Regions from separate parts of the Homo sapiens genome. Here region 2 is linked to region 1. The links are contacts of gene promoters, found by promoter capture Hi-C in blood cells and fetal thymus (Javierre and others, 2016). All regions are on one chromosome and are shown on one strand. The core of a region is centred on a gene start or on the middle of the fragment in contact, and the rest is flanking DNA. Distances in the headings are between cores, read along the strand shown. Region 1 holds the start of ANKRD49 (ankyrin repeat domain 49). Region 2 overlaps CHORDC1 (cysteine and histidine rich domain containing 1).

Region 1 (3,993 bases), core at 1-2,500:
GCTTTAGAAACCCCAAATAACAAGGGATTCCAGAAGTCAGGTGCTTACAGTGCATCTGCAGTACTCATTTTTATGGTCAGTCAAGCTCCTCTGGGACCAGGTTCTTCTCCAAGAACCCCTGGGTACTGTACTCAAATGTCAGAAAATGCACTCGATTCCAAATTCTAGAAATTCTAAAAACAAAATTACATCATAAAACACATTTTTTAAAAGCCTGCACGTATTTAACCAACATGATTTACGCTGCACAAGGTACAGACGTCTTAATTAGACTGGCAAATTTAGAAGTCTCATTTTCATCTAAGCACCCACTATACTTTTTTTTAATGAACTGAGCATAGAAAATAATATATCTCCAGTGTACATCCTGTTTCCTAGTTTCACCAAGATGATTAAACTCCTATTTTCCTTTCCCGTGCTCTTATGGGAAATTAATGTATGCTAAATAAATGGGCAGAAAGGGTCACATACGGTTCTGGTTCAACACACAAACAACTCTAGATGTGCAGATATTTTTAAGTTGCACGCATAGGTTACTCTGGAGAACAGAGGCAATCCTGTATTTCCTATTCAAACCCCACGATTTTTTTTAAAGGACCTGGCTAGTTTGGAAAAGGGAACGGGCCCGCGTTTAAAGCGAGTGTAAATAAACAAACACGTGGTCTGCGGAGGAACACCTTTAAGCACCAGCAGGATGACTGAAAATAGCCAGGTTTGGGGAAGAGTGGCTGCCACCGCGAGACAACCCCCACCACATCTGGAGCTCCAGATTCCGTCGGGATTCCAAGCCTCAACACGCCCTCACCGCAGGGAACCTCGGAATCAGAACGCTGAGCCCGCCAGGACCCCTCCCCTGCCCACTCGGCCCGCTCTTCCCGAGGTTCCAGTTAACTCTGGGCTTCCGCCTGGGAACCTGCAGAAACAGGAGACGAATGCGATTCCTAAATTACCCCACTGCTGGACTCTTCGAAGCCCCACAATCGCGACCCAAGGCTGTCTTCTTTTCGGGAAGAAAGGGCAGGATCCGTGAAAAGAAAACAACACGGTCTGAACTTGCCTCTGAGAACCCGCAGGGCCGTAAACCTGAATTCCGCGGGAGAGAACGGCGTCCGTTTCTCTCGCGACACTTCATGGATAACGTAGATGCTTCAAGTCCAGTTCGGCTCTCATTGGCTACCGCACGCAGTGAGGGGGCGGGGAAAGTAGCGGCGAGGCCCCGCCCTCACGCAGGAGCCAATCCTGAGCAGGCTAGGAGACGAACCCGGAAGTGAGATGCAAGGCGGCGATTTTCCCTTCTGTCAGGTGGGTTGTTATTCCCTGTCCCGGACCTCGCTTTTTGATGGACCGGCGCCATCTAAGAACTCCTGAGCCCGTGGGGGTGGGTAGCCTGTGGACACAGGCCGAGCCCTGCAGGTCAGGCCGCTTCGTGGTCCCCAGGTAGGACCGAAGCCGCTTCTCCGCTCTTGGCTGTTTGGAAGGCCGCAGGCGGAGCTCACGGGCCTGTGAGCTCCCGGCTGGTGGCAGAGTGCCGGAGCTGGATCCCCTCTCCCTCCCTCCCAGTCGCCAGACCCTCTACAGGTGTCGCCCCTAGGTCCTTGAGTTCAGCACATCTGCACTGCTTTGTGCTGAGAGCAGTAAGATGTATAGTGCAGCGAAAAATAATGTAGAACTTTTGAATTAGAACGTCTGCCCTTTCAGTTCCATTGAAGGGTCCTTGATCTAGGGCAAGTTGTTTTAATCTATCTGAACCTCCTTCACCAGTAAGGTTTATAGCCCCGCCTATCACTGAGTTGTTTGTAAGGAGTTGACATAGTTCGGATCTCTCTCAAAATAGGATATGCCCTTTAAGTTAGGAAACATACCCTGACATTCCTGATGGAATATCAGGAATATCATCATCAAGTCATCAGTTTTGTTTCTTAACTGTAAGTCGGGTAGATGCGCCTAGGCTTGGCTTTTTAAACTAAATATACCAGTAAAATTTTGTACATAATTTTTTGTATCTGGATCTGTAAACTCAAAATTTATATAAAGGGAGTTTTTATTGAAAGGAAAAGCATGTTGGGGGAGAGGGTAAGATCTGTGGTATAAGGTTACTATATTTGATATAATTACAAGTGAACTTTTATTTATTAGCATCTGTTAAGTGTTTAATGAATTGATGTATGGTCATTTTTGTGTTGCAAGGTTCAGGAATTAGTTTGAGAATCAAAGAAAAAGTGGAAGCTCCAGGAGAATTAATAAAACACAGAGCAATTCTGATTGGATATCTCTGATTCCAAGGGTGTCTCTGATTGGGTGACTGAAAAGCCGGATTGGCCTTAGGAATACTTTAGTAAAATTCTTACATTTTACAATAAAGTAACAGGACCAGAAAAGTTACTGGACATGAGTAATACATTTAAACTTGAGTTTAGTGCTATTGCCACTAGTAATAAAGTTTAATACCACATTAAGATTGTATACTGTTAAACTTGTGAGATTAGGTATCAAGAAATCAGTATCTTGGGGTTATGCCTAACTCTGGAACTTCTCAGAATCCATTCCAGGCAAAATCAAGTGACAAGACTTTAATTAAATGTAATGCTACACATACTTCTTAATGCCTTCTATAGACAAGTAGGAGATAAATATAAGTTAAATGTGGTCCTTATCTTTCAGCTTATAATCTTTTAAGGGGCTAAAACAAGAACAAAGTTAGAGGTGAAATGTAGCACCAAAAAAAGTAGAAAGCAGAAAGCGATCTAAATGAGAGGATCAAGAAAGAATGAAAGAGATAACATCAGAGAAGAGCCTTGAAAGACTGATTATATTTCAACAAATAGAGTTGAGAGGCTGGGAATTCGTATTTGTAAATTATCTATTGGTTATTCTCCTTTTCTTTAATTGATTAAGGTTTATATGTTGTGTAACCCTTTAAGCTGATATTGGTTTAAAAATTAATATGGCAGCTTAGCAGAATAAACATCAGTTCCTTCAGGAAGCCTTCTTTAATCCCTTAGGACTAGGGGAATTATGAACCTCCTGTATACTCATGGTTTCTAGACAAGGTCTTGTAGTAGTACTTATCATGTTGTCTTTGCCAGACACATGATGTCTTTGCCAGTCACCTACACTAGAGTAAGCTTCCTGAGGTGAAGACATGGATCTTGCTCATTATTGAATCCCAGTACCCAGAAGTTGGCACATACCAGACATTCTATTCATATTAGTTGAATGAAGGAATGAATGACAGCCAAAATTCAGTTGAAAACAAGGACCCAACTAAGAACTATAGTTGCCTATCAATAAACAGGACTACTTTTTAAAGCAGTGAATTTTCCTAGGCCTGAAATTATCAAAGTAGAAATAGGATAATTAGTGTAGATGCTGTGATAAAGATATATGTACCGATGACAGATTGGAACAGATGTCCTTTTGGGGGCTATTCCATCTTCAAGAATCCCTGATTCTTCGAAATAGTATTTTTAGGAATTAGAAGTTTTTATTTCTGCTCTATATTATCTGTGTGTCTAGTTTATAAAAATCTTGAATGCACCTGTCTTCATTGTATTAGTTATACTTCAAAACCTTTAAGCATTCATCACTGTTAGCATAACACCATCATACCTAAACCAGTAGATTAAAAATAATAGTTATAATAATATAATTGACTTAGAAGAAAACAACAAAAGTAAGAAGCATTAGACCACTATTAGATCATAGTTTGTTGTTTTCTGTCAGCATCAGTATTTAGTGTATGTAAGGGATATCATGAGAAAAACAAGAGTTTAGACAGGGTTTAATTGTATATGTTTGCAAGACTTATCTATGCAGTTGATAAAGCCTGAATTATTGTTTTACTAATAACTTTTGTATTTGTGTTTTCAGATCTTGATGAACAAAGCAGTCATAATTCATCTCTAGAAAGATTTATATCCTGGCATTTGAAATGCTTTTTATTTAGAATAGTAGTAAAAAATGGAAAAAGAAAAAGGAAATGATGATGGAATA
Region 2 (7,299 bases), core at 805-3,304, 4.3 Mb before region 1:
AATATGAACTGAGTAGTCTGGGCTCAATCTGTTACTGGAATTCAGCTTTCTTTAGTAGGAAGCCTTTGAAGGTTTTACATAAAATTATAATGATCCCATTTATTACTATCAGCCTAAAGAACCATTTAAAATTTGTGAATTTTCTTGACACAATTTCCACATTTTTCTGTACCTTAAGAATGTATCATGCCTAGTTTTATCAATCATGTTTTATCACTGATACTAACAGAATCAAGGGTCTGTGGTACATTTATTTTGCTTTTGCCCATCCAGCCTTCCTTGCCCATTCTGGAAAAAGAATGTTTTCAATAAGGGGACCCATTACAGATGGTTTGGGTGGCACACTGAGTATTTAGCAGGTGAGCCTAAATACTCCTTTATTGGATTTACTTATTCCCATGCTTGTGTACTGCTACTTACATCACAATCAAAAGCAGGGATTACCAGTTTTTTGAATTAAAACAAGATGCCCTCAAAGTTCAGAGTGCTATGAATGTTGCAACCTCAAAGTTAGCTAGTGAATTTACATTACTGCCTATTACGACTCTAAATCCTGAGAGCCAGAAAAGGCCTATGAGCCTCAGATCTTACAAATAGCCTGGAGTACTTCTTGAGGATTTGTAAACATTCCTTGGACTCAGCAGTCCCTTGAGAAAATCATTTCCTCCAAAATCTGTGTCTATATTCTCTATCTTGTTTAAGCTCTCCCTCCATTCCCAAACCTAGGAATCATCCTAAATTTTCATCTAGACCCTAATTCAAGATCCTCAGTCTCTCTTCTCTTCCTACTGCTTCTGCTGTATTTCATGCCCTCATCCTAACTGGTCTGTCTCTACACCAACTCTAATTGTTCCCTTCTATCAAAGCTAAACTTGATGCTGTTTTACTGGATGTTTTATCTAACACAGAGGTAAGAATTATTATTTACGAGCTACATATCACTATCAAAATGGCAATGAAAACTTTTGTGCTTTTTGCAGTAAGGATTCTGAAACTTCAATTTGGAGGCTGTTAAGAAAAACTAGAGACCCTAAGAGTCATCAAATCACAAGTGATGAATTGGCTATTATATCCAAAACCATCCAGGCAAAATTACTACATAATTTTATAACTTTACTAACACAACAAAAAAATTGTTCCTGGTTACCAAACACATTAAGAGTTTTCCATGCTATATGCCCATGTTATATCAGAAGCAGCACAGAATAGTGGTTAAGAGCATGGAACAACACAGAGGCAGGCTGCATGAGTTTGAAATCTTTATACCACAACTCATTAGTCTGAACTCTGGATAAGCTACTTAACCAATGTCATAAAGTCAGTTTCCTCATCTGTAATATAAGAATAAAAAAACCCACCTCACAGCATGGTAAAGAAGATTAACAAGTTAATCATAAAAATAAAATCTGAATAAATATGAAACTGCAAAATGAAATAAGCAAAATGAAGAAAAGGATCAGGGTGTTTAAAAATATTAATACATCCATCTAACCTCTTTACTGAACGAGGGGAAAGTGCCTCAAGTTCAGGGAGGTTTCCCTTTTCCAGACTCAATCACTGATTTTACTTTTATTAGCAAAGTTTTTAAAAAATAATTTAAACATTTAAGCAGCATCTCTGCCTAATGAAAAAGGAATGGCAAATTGAATTATTTTGACACATAATCTTTAAGAAACATAAAAATGTTTAAGGCTGGAAGTTATATTTCTTTTCAATGGACATTAAAGGTGACCCACTAAACGGAAAAACTAAGAAAAGTCATTGAGTTTTTAGTGAAAACATGGTCTTCAGAAAAACTGTTCTTAAAGATAATCTTCACAATGAAGAATTCTGTTAAAAAGTTAAAGAACATGCAGAAGAAAACCTCTGCAAGCCTGGTATTTTAGAGATAGTGCCATATGTATAAAGCCATAGGCATATACGTAACTGAAGAAGGCAAGCCATCCAACACCACCAGATTAAGTTGTTAAGATACCTGGGCAGTAGGGAAGCAGTCAGGGATAATTAACAACAACAACAAAAAACCTATCAAACAATCAAAACAAATGAAACAGAAAACCCTATTAACAAAACCTAAAAACAAGCTGGGCTTAATAGCTTGCATTTCAAAACTGAGGCCATGGAATTATACTGGTGAAAACAAAGTAAATAACAAATATGAATGCCAAGTCAAAATAATTTGCCATAAAAGATGAACAACAAAAAAAAACCCTGTTAATGTTCAAATAGATAATTTAAAAGTACCTGACTGCTAAAAACAAAATTTACAGAGTACATACCCATATATCCTAAAAGGGACACCAGCCCTCATAAATGAGCTTTTAAGAGTTTACTTGGCCGGGCGCGGTGGCTCACGCCTGTAATCCCAGCACTTTGGGAGGCCGAGGCGGGCGGATCACGAGGTCAGGAGATCGAGACCATCCCGGCTAAAACGGTGAAACCCCGTCTCTACTAAAAAAAAAAAATACAAAAAATTAGCCGGGCGTAGTGGCGGGCGCCTGTAGTCCCAGCTACTTGGGAAGCTGAGGCAGGAGAATGGCGTGAACCCGGGAGGCGGAGCTTGCAGTGAGCCGAGATCCCGCCACTGCACTCCAGCCTGGGCGACAGAGCGAGACTCCGTCTCAAAAAAAAAAAAATAAATAAATAAAAAAAATAAAAAAAAAAAAGTTTACTTACTGTGAGTATACGCATGACATAAATTTTCAGGCTGAGGAATAACTGATTAAAAAAAAAAAAAAAATTGGGAGTTCGGAGAGGGGAAATAACTCAAAGTCCCTTTAAAATATTTGCAAGAACTCTTTAAGTTTCTCTACACTTTGATGGTTGAATAATTTTCTGAAGAAAATTCTTAATTAAATCCTTGCATAAAATATAAATTAGAATAAAGTAAAATCATTACAGTCCTTTGCCAGTATAGTTACACCAAGAAGTTACATCTTCAACCTATAAACATTTGTTGATTCCTAATCATATCTTAATTGTTTATAAATTACTGGCTTAAATTATTACCAAAAAAGTAGGACAAGTCTTAAGACCTTGAAGAATTCCACTAAAAACAGATGGTAAAAATAAAATGTTCTACTTTAGTTAATAGTATTATACAAAGGTTAATTTCTTAAGTTTTATAAATGTTCTATGATAACGTAAGATTTTAACATTAAGATTAATATAAGACATAAAGAACTGTTGTATTTTTACAACTTTTCTGTAAACCTAAAACTAGGTCAAAGAAGTTAAATAAAGGCTCAGTTTATTAGGATCTTACTTCCTTTATACTAGTAAATGTGCTATGAAAGAAAAATAGCATTTTAGGTTTCCCATCTTTAGTTACCAAGTATATATATAATATACCTAACTTTGACTGCTTTGCTATAGTAATTATTTTTAATGCTAAAAAAGACAAAGCAAATTTCTAGAGAAATAAATCAATAAGCACTTTTTATTAACTTTTTTGACAAACCGATAGTAAAACATATGCTACCTAACGATAACTGTGTCCCTTTATGTATGAGTCTAAGAGAAATATTCGGATTTTTATCTGGACAAGAAATTCAAAGGCTCCTTAAGAAGAAAGTAAATACCATGGTCACTAATGTAACCAGACTAAATATAAAAGCTACATATGTATGTGTGTGTGTGTGTGTATAAATCAATGTTTTGATCAATGTAACTAATCTGAGGTTACAATAACTCACTGCTTCAAATAATATTTCAATTACATGTAACAGATTAAGATACTGTTTAGGGGAAAACAGCCTCAGAAGGAAGTATGAACAAAAAGGGATATTAATCATTACCTTTAATCAAACTAATTATCAACCTTTCCCCCAACCCATAAAGACTTCATGTCTCTAAATGGTTCCTAAATCATGGAAGATAACTTGAAAAATTTTAAATACATCTCCAGGTATCAGATGCTTATGTACTCCATGTGGGTCCAACTTTTACTGCCCAGAGTTTCTTGTCATGGTAATGTAACATCATGAAAGTCTGGTTGCCAGATCTTTATGTTTTTATTTGTAACAGAGCTAAACCTTTTAACAATTATATTAACTACAACTAAGTTATTTGCTAATGGTAGTAGAATGATACATATGTTTTATTCACGAAAATAGTACTTCTGCAAATTTTTCTTTGTAAGAATTCCATAAATACCAAGGAAAAGAAAAGACTCAAGGGGTTTGGGAAATAAACCCCTTTTAATTTTAAATCTACATAAGTTTAATTTATTCCCAAACTTTCTAAGTTCTTCCAGAGTTCTGGCCTTCAGAATATTTCCTAATTTTTCTTCTTGAGTTCTGCACTAACTCAAAACCTATCCAAACGATCTAATTCTGTATTACCTATATTTAATATAAAGTACAATATATAGTCAACATTGTATCACTAGAATTGTGAAGCTCTTCATGACTTTAAAAAAAAACTCCAAAACAATTAAGCTATTTTTATTTAACATGTAATAGTCATAAAGCAACTCCATATATTTAGTTTTCTGATATCCTAATGTATTTCCACAAACCTTTTAAGTCTACAATTTTATATAGTTTTCCATCAGGGAGGCAAGATATATATAATTTCTTTTTATATTTAACTAAAGGTTTTAAGAGGGCTTAGTCTCTAAATCAGTAACAATTAGTCATAACACCATACAAACACATTTAAATATTCAGGAAAGAGGTTGTTAAGATTATTGCTTAGTCTTATAAAATGGTGAATTTTAACCAAATTGATACCTCTGTAATCTTATTTATGTTTCCTATAACATCATACTGCTTGGCAAGTAATGTAAGTTTTGACATAATTTAAAAATTCAAGTAGTTGTAAACAAATTCTAATTTGTTAAACAATTCATATATTCCCCTTTAGTTACTATACTACCTCAGAATTAATCCTCCTTAAAAAAGTAATCATCCCACATAGAAAAAACTGCAGAGCTTCATCTCTTCCTTAAATATTTTCAAGTACTGTAAGAACACAAATCCATGAAAAAACTGATTAAAATTTGACATTTCATCTTGCTTTACTAATTATGGAATAATACAAAAACATAAAAAAAATGTTCCTTAATATTTCTTTGCTTAACAGAGAAATACAAAGAAATACTGCAATTATGGTTATGGGCTACTTTCCAGCCTCTTCAAGTATAGGACACAACTATGGTTCCTACCAGTAGGGAGAAATGAATAATCAATCTTACATAACACAAAAGAAAGATGAGAGGCACAAAAAGACAAACTGACTTTGGCTTTTAAGAACCTAATGTTAACCCTGAAATGCCACATTCAGTAACACAACAACAAAACAAAAGATTACAGCAGCAAGCCACCACTTCACACAGTATTAAAAATTCGGAAATAATGTAATAGCCTTCCTTCCATCTCCCACTCAATCTGTTGTGGCATCTTTTTGTTTTTCCTGCTTTTTAGCTGCAGGCAGTTCAAGGCTTGCCCACTGCATCGGTTCAGCTTTTCTCATAGTGATTTCAATCTTTGTTGCAGTCATAGTTACATAACTTCGCTTTACATCAATCACCTGTAACATATCAAAGAGAATTACAGGAAACCTCAGTAGTTTTATTAGTCTCAGAGGAAAACATCAGACTTGCTTATGCCAATAATCCCAAATCCAAGCTTCTAAAGGCCTCTTTTATATCTAGTCTTAAACTTTTTGGTAGGATACACTGTTAAGTTATACATCTATACTTTGCATCAATGTTTACTGAAGAATTGTCTTTTATTCTACAAATGATCTAAGTTATCAGAAAAAAAATTCTTATAAATTTGTAATACTTACACCCCATAATTTCACATTTTGATCAAATTCCTTCTCTCCTTCAAATACAATATGCACATTTAACTGAAAAAGATATACACAGTTAATTGATCTAATTCAAACTGAAGATTTATGCTATCAAACACTGATTATAAAAATAAGACTGACAAAAATGAATTAAGCTATTTTAAGAAACTGCCAATACTGTATTGTTTCATATGAGAAAAGCCACTGACAAAAAAGAATAACTGGCTTCAAGTTTCATATTGAGAACTAAGTACTATATTACTTGATAAATCTACTACAGTATCTCCAGAATGGTTCAGCAGTAAGTCTACTATACAGAAATTTTCATTTAAAATAGTTTCATAGAAGTAATTTAATTTTTTTTAATGGGAGTCATTATAAAATCTTACCCCCAAATCAGCTGAGATATAAACAATACTTTAAAATACAGTAACATAAAGAATGATGTATAGAAAAGAACTTTTACCCAAAATTATAAGATGTACTTACCAATGTGCTATTTGCTTCTACTCGGCTAAGTTCTGGAAGTGAGTTTTTAGCATATACTGAAATGGTAACTTCACCTCCAGTCTGATGCCAGTCATGTCTACATGGAACAACTTTTTTCCCCTGTAATGTAAGAGAAACTCTGTAAGTTAAAAAAGTGCCACATAATTAATTTCTTAAAAAGAGGAATTTGACCCATCTGAGAAAAAACTACCATGCACAACAACTAAGCACTTAATGTTTAAGGGCAAAAAACTTCTATATTTCCCAAGAGGCTTAAACAAGAAAATATATCATGGTACAAAGATTCTTCATAAATTTTATGATTTCAGAACACACTTACTCCTTCCCTTTGTTTTTTTCTTTCAGGGCCATAATATTGATACACAGCTAAAAAGACAATTTAAGAACTCCTACTAAATTTAATCCAATTTAACATTCTGTAACCTACTAAGTACTGTCATCAAAACATTCTTTGAAGACTGAAATGAAAGACATTTGTTTACTGGGATAAATCAGACAACACCTTAACCTCATGCACTAGAAACCTTATTTATTTTCTACAAATCAGAATCTAAGAAAAAAATCTGACCAGTTATTACTTTCTTCCCATTTTAATAAAGAACAAATGATTTTTGGATTTTCTGATTATGAAAATAATCCTTACATACCAGTAGTATACTATACTGCCCTACCAGTATTTTTTTTTATAGAGGCAAATGATGATTTGTTATATAAATGAGAACAATTTAGTTACATAATTCAGGAAACTGAGACACTACTGTTGTAAAAGGTACTATTTTCGTTTTGATAAAATTACATTAACTAAATTTAAATTATATATATCACTCACATTTTTCCCCTTAGCTACTAGCTTAGATACTTAATACTTGATAACTGCATACATTAAAAAACAAGAGAAATTACATCATTTTATCTAGGATTATACTCCCAAACTTAACATAATGGAAAACAACATTTTATTTTTTCAAACTAAAATTTTCAAACTTTTGG

What was found. The method cuts DNA at HindIII sites, captures the fragments that hold promoters and counts their contacts. A CHiCAGO score of 5 or more calls a contact.
Region 2: a contact is called between a fragment that was not itself captured here and the fragment with the promoter of ANKRD49 in region 1, in 2 of 17 cell types (total B cells and activated CD4 T cells). The highest score is 7.0, in total B cells.

Annotation. Positions count from the first base shown.
Region 1 is chr11:94,492,734-94,496,726 of GRCh38, forward strand. ANKRD49 (ankyrin repeat domain 49) reads left to right here and starts at 1,251. Exons shown (of 3, transcript NM_017704.3): 1 at 1,251-1,302; 2 at 3,871-3,993. The coding sequence starts at 3,961. It overlaps MRE11 (MRE11 double strand break repair nuclease), which reads right to left and starts at 1,111. Exons shown (of 20, transcript NM_005591.4): 1 at 1,058-1,111; 2 at 49-173. The coding sequence starts at 68. RefSeq lists an enhancer at 1,461-1,550. The HindIII fragment of the contact is 5,313 bases long and covers 1-3,123 here.
Region 2 is chr11:90,197,020-90,204,318 of GRCh38, forward strand. CHORDC1 (cysteine and histidine rich domain containing 1) reads right to left here. Exons shown (of 11, transcript NM_012124.3): 9 at 6,289-6,408; 10 at 5,794-5,856; 11 at 3,410-5,532. The coding sequence ends at 5,386. Among named protein-coding and RNA genes, the nearest start is that of CHORDC1, 22 kb to the right of the region's middle. The HindIII fragment of the contact is 7,147 bases long and covers 1-5,628 here.